Regions from separate parts of the Homo sapiens genome. Here region 1 is linked to region 2. Evidence: promoter capture Hi-C in 16 types of primary human blood cells and fetal thymus (Javierre and others, 2016). All regions are on one chromosome and are shown on one strand. Each heading gives the region's core, a stretch centred on a gene start or on the middle of the fragment in contact. The rest is flanking DNA. Distances are from core to core; before and after follow the strand shown.

The links. Contacts are between HindIII fragments. The CHiCAGO score rates a contact against its expected background, and 5 or more counts as called.
Region 1: a contact is called between a fragment that was not itself captured here and the fragment with the promoter of XRCC5 in region 2, in 2 of 17 cell types (total CD8 T cells and naive B cells). The highest score is 6.2, in total CD8 T cells.

The regions. Positions count from the first base shown.
Region 1 is chr2:215,335,773-215,338,472 of GRCh38, reverse strand. It overlaps ATIC (5-aminoimidazole-4-carboxamide ribonucleotide formyltransferase/IMP cyclohydrolase), which reads right to left. Exons shown (of 16, transcript NM_004044.7): 11 at 2,349-2,438. Among named protein-coding and RNA genes, the nearest start is that of ATIC, 25 kb to the right of the region's middle. The HindIII fragment of the contact is 4,008 bases long and covers 1-2,700 here.
Region 2 is chr2:216,108,094-216,110,793 of GRCh38, reverse strand. It overlaps XRCC5 (X-ray repair cross complementing 5), which reads right to left and starts at 1,446. Exons shown (of 21, transcript NM_021141.4): 1 at 1,337-1,446. The coding sequence starts at 1,357. RefSeq lists an enhancer at 1,101-1,722. The HindIII fragment of the contact is 16,954 bases long and covers 1-2,700 here.

The DNA of each region.
Region 1 (2,700 bases), core at 174-2,673, 770 kb after region 2:
AACAATGATTCCAGTGAGTGTATTTTTGGTTAAGTTACTACCTATATGGTTCTTTTGGAAGGTCAGCAGATAAAACAGATGTGCTAATTAAATAAGCAATGGCACAAAAATTAAATTCTAATTTTCCTTTCTAAAAATCTGTTACAAAATACCCAGCTAACCCAGGAATTGAAAGCTAAAAGTGAGAAAACAGGATTTGTAATCTGTGTCTTTGCTATTTGGAAGGAATTTGTATCATTTACTGCCATCTTCCTCTCCCAAATTTTGAGCCGAAAGAACATTAAGGTGTGTGGAACAATACGTGTAACACTACTCTCTCCCTGGATATTTTTTTAAACTTGACACTATTTCTTCTTTATGCTTTGGATGATCTTTGATTTAGAAAGCCCTGACATATAATTTATAAGCAAGACCCCGTAAATATTAGTTCTGTTTAATCTACATTTTCTTGAATTCTAAAATGTTCCTTTGTATTATGCACTATAAAATTTCTAAAATTGATATGCTCTCCTATTAACTGATGCTAGGAGAAACTTATCATTAGTCAGGTAGAGGGATAAGTTGTCTCATGCTTATAATCATGCGTCCAATGTGCAAACTAAGCCAAATTCTCAAATAAGTAAAATACCAATGAAGTCCTGATATTCCTTTGACACTCTCCAACTATCAGGTGTTAAAGAGATCAAGAAAATGACTCAGGTTTTGGAAAATATTTTCCATGATGCTACAAGAAAATGCTAATGGTTGTTAAGTACATAACACTCTTAACAACAACAACAAAAAAAAAACTTGATTAAGAAACTGGGGGCCAGGCGCGGTGGCTCACGCCTGTAATCCCAACACTTTGGGAGGCCGAGGCGGGCAGATCCCTTGAGGTCAGGAGTTTGAGACCAGCCTGGCCAACATGGTGAAACCCTGTCTCTACTAAAAATACAAAACTCAGCCAGGCCTGGTAGTACATGCCTGTAGTCCCAGGTACTTGGGAGGGTGAGGCAGGAAAATCGCTTGAACTCAGGAGGCAGAGGTTGCAGTGAGCCAAGATCACACCACTGCACTCTAGCCTGGGCAACAGACTGTCAAGTGGCTAAAAAAAAATAAGTATTAACTTTAATGTGGTATTCTCTTCTTTCCTTAAATAGCTGACATGGAATCTATGGTGAACTATAAAATTATTGGTATCTTACAATCAAAAGAATATACTTAATAACTTTCCTTGTAAGGAATTAGGATTCCACAGAGTTCTGATATCAATACTATGAAAAGTAGCATTAGGAATTTTTACTTTAAATTGAAATAACTCTTTGCTTTATCAATGCATAATCTTAGACCATGAGCTACTTTTCCCAATACAGAAGAGCTCATAAAAATCAGTTAAAAAAAAAAAAAAAGCCAACAACAACTTAGTAGAAAAATCATCAAAGAATATGGAAAGACAGTTCATAGAAAGGAATAAAAACATTCAAACATGAAAAGATGCTCATACCACACACAATGTTAAAACTACATTGAGATGCCATTTTCTAACTGCAGAGACTTTTTAAAAGTATAAAACCACAATGCTGACAAAAGTGTTGGGAAACAGGCATCCTTATATATTTCAGTTAGGACAATGAATTTGCCTACAACATCTAAAAGGGGCAGTATCAATTAAGATTACCAATATACATAGAGCTTGTTATTAAGCCTTAATTTCACTCTCAGGACTTTTCTAGGTTATTCACTGCAGGGGTATTTGTAGTAGCTAAAGATTGGTGACTGTCTAGGTAAGTTAAAATACACAGATACAGGACAAACTTCCAAGAAGGTGAAGCAGGGTGCACTTGTGTCAATAGGAAAATAGAAAAAGAAATGCACATGCAAATATTTGCTGAATACATAGACTATTTCAGGAAAGATAAGCAAGAAATTTAAAATAGTTATCTTTTCAAAAGGTAACAGAAGGATGGAGAGACTTTCCATTAAATATTGTTACTATTATTAGTATTTTAGAGACATGGTCTTACTACACTGCCAAGGCTGGAGTGCAGTCGTTATTCACAGGCATCATAGTACCACAATACAGCCTCCAATTCTTGGCCTCAAGCCATCCTCCCACATCAGCCTCTCAAGTGGCTGAAATTATAGGCATGAGCCATCACAACCAGCAAAAAGTTAAAATTGAGGGTAAGAAAGCTACTCTCATCTCAAAACCCCAAGTTAATAGTATTTTTTTAAATGCAGGATTGGGGAAAATAAACTATAATAAGGATAAACTAGAAGGGTATGAGTATAAAGGAAAGAGTAAACAAGGGAGAAAGAGACACAGAATAAAAGAGCAAATTACCGCTTCAAACATGAATTGCACTCACCTGAAGGACACAATAGTTTCCATTTTTCTTTTTGGAAAGTATTGTCAAGGCTTCTTCTTCATATCCTGGGGCAATTATACCATCAGATACCTGCAAAAATATTAAATTTTAATTTCTATTTTTAAAAATCAGAGAACACCTCTTAAAAAAATCTAGCAGCAATTATCAGTCTTAAATAATGTGGCAGCATATTCTGGTTTCTGCCTCCAACAAACAATGCTAACGCTATACTTGAAAAGAGAAATCTATTAGAATACAGCTTTCTGTATAGCAGATCCTAACTTTCTGTCCTCTCCAAGTTTTTGTTCGTTTCAGTTTAAACTAAGAAAATATGACTGATTTGCTCTTAACA
Region 2 (2,700 bases), core at 197-2,696:
AAAATATGCTGCTGCACTTATTTGATACACACCCACAAAAGCTACTTTTAAACCAGAAAACTCTAGAGGACTAAAGCACTTTTGTCATGAATTAGGTATCCAGTAAGTGCCATCAAAGGGTTTCAAATATGGAACTTATTGTCTGGAAGCAGAATGGTCTATATTTCTGAGTTCCTATCTGGCAGCAGTAAGAAAACTGAGAAAGAGAAACCGGGTAGCATAGCAACTCTTCATTTCTATACCGAAGCAATACAGGCTGTTAGAATTTTACTTCCAGTTCATCTGCAACAAACAGCTCCTCCACTAGAGCTACAAAGTTTTCAGCAGCTGAAAGAGGACGAAAAAAGGAGGTGAGTGGCATTATTAAAAGTTCATGATCGTTTTAATCAACATTTCTCAATGAGGAGTTGAGGGAACTAGGGATCAGTTGCTCAAACTCGTATCTTGTTTATCTGTATTGAATAAATTCATTAATCCCTGGAACCACATCTCCCTCTAGTGACCCTTCAGAGACAACTACCACTCTTTTATGTTGAAAAAAAAAAATCACTTTAAAATTCATTGTAATTTCTGTTACTGATCTGGGACACCAATGGTCATAGATTTCTAGCAACACAGGGGTTCTCCAGGGCCCTGAAACCAGACAGCTTGGATTCAAATCCGGATTTCACCAGGAAAAGCCCACAGTTCTTTATTCCTCGGTTTTCCCACTTGCAAAATGGGGATAAATAGTTTTCACTTCAAGGGGTTGTGAAGATTAAATGAGATAAGAATAAAAGGTTTAGATCCGTCCCTCACAGAGTGGGCTTTCAATAAATGCGGGATACTACGTTATTATAAAGCTAATAATACGACGCTTTACAGTTTAAGTTATTTTAGTCACAGATAGTCCCTCTCTTAAGTTTTACAACAAGCCCTGTGGGATAGTTGCTTTATCACAGCTAATTTTCATTCTCATAGAGATCTTAAGAACCCAGGCTCGGAAGTAATAGAGGAAGTGGGGCTAGGGAGTGGAATGGGATAAAGAGAGAGAGAGGGGAGGCGGGTGGGGAGGCAGGTGAGACAAAGAGCAGGTAGAGAGGGAGAAGAGGGATGGGATGGGTGGGTAATGGAAGAGGTGGAGTCAGCGAGGCTCAAATTCAGGTCTTGGAGCCCCAAATCTCCAGCTTTTCTCATAGCGCATCCCTCGGTCCCGGCCCTCCTGACTGAGCCCACCACCATGATCTTCTCTTGCCCCATTCTTTGTCTTGACCGCGATCCCACGATTCCTGCTTCCGAACCACCCTCTCCGGATCCCCAGTCCGGGTAAAGCCCAAGTCCATGGCTTTCTTTATACCTTATTCCCCGACCGCACCATGTTGCCGGTCCTCAGGCGCTTTGGTCGCTTCTTCCGGGCGGGAACCTGCCGTGTCGCAACTCGCTTCCGGTGGACAAGCGGCAGATAGCGGAAAGAGCCGCTTCGTTTCCTGCTAGGCCTGAAAGGGGCGGGGAAACCGTGCCCCGGAACTCTGAGCATGCGCAGATTCCCGCCGAGCTTGCGCAGATTCCCGCCGAGCTCGCGCAGATTCCGGCCGAGCATGCGCAGATTCTCTCCGAGCATGCGCAGATTCCCGCCGAGCATGCGCAGATTCCCGCCGAGCATGCGCACATTCTCTCCATTCCGCCGTAGTCGGGAGCGTGTGGTGTTTGAGCCGCCTGAAACGCTAGTACGACAGATTTACTTAAAGATTCACTTAATCACTTAAAGATTCACGTCCCTTTTCTCTCATTGAGAATAACACCTAAGGCATTTTGTGTCAGAGCTCTGGAGTTAGATTTCTTTTCTTTTTTTTACTTTTTTAAAAAATCTTTTTTCCTTTAATTTCATTTTTTCATTTATTTTTTATAACTTTTGATTTTTTTTTTTCTCATCACTTGTGGGTTTTTTTCTACTTTTTATTTTTGGTTATTGTGGAGTTAGATTTTCTTGAGTATGAGTATGAATGCAGAAAGTCACTTAACTTCTCTAAAAGACTCAGTTTCTTCTAAAAAGTGATAATGAAACACTTCACCGATGTGATAACCTTAGAGCCAACTGGGGAAGAAGAGTAGGACGTCCCCAGGAGCACAAAAGTAGAAGGGAGATTCTACTCTGCAGAGAAAATGGGATGCACAAACGCCTGGAGGCATGAGACTTTATCTGCTAAGGCTCTCCCAGTAGTTAGCAGTGGCTCCAGCTTGGAAGGGAGGAGTCAAGGTTTAATTTAGAAGACAAGTCTAGGGAGATATAGAAATAGCAGCTGTCATCACAGTGCTTTACTTGATCACGAGCCCTTTGTCCAGCCCGCATCCCCTACCCCTTTGAGGGAGGCAGGCCCAAGCAGTACCTTGCATAGAAATGACTGCTTTCTATACCATATGACCCCCAGCTGACAGGTGGCTGGACGAAGGGTCTGGCAACCTGCAAAGTGTCTGCAAACCTCTGCCCAAACTGAGAAAATCAAGTCCAATCAATATTCTCTCCTGCTTGAAAATTGTTTCTGGGAAAAGCAAGAATTGAAGCTGAAAAGATGTGGAGAATCTATGAGCCAAAATTATAAATACATTGAAGCCTCTAGAATGTAGAGTCAGACATATTCAGAGGTGCTCATAGAGCCCAGGAGGTTCTTCCAGCTTTTGATTCAAACTCAAGGAGTTACTTAAAAGCTGAAATATTATTTT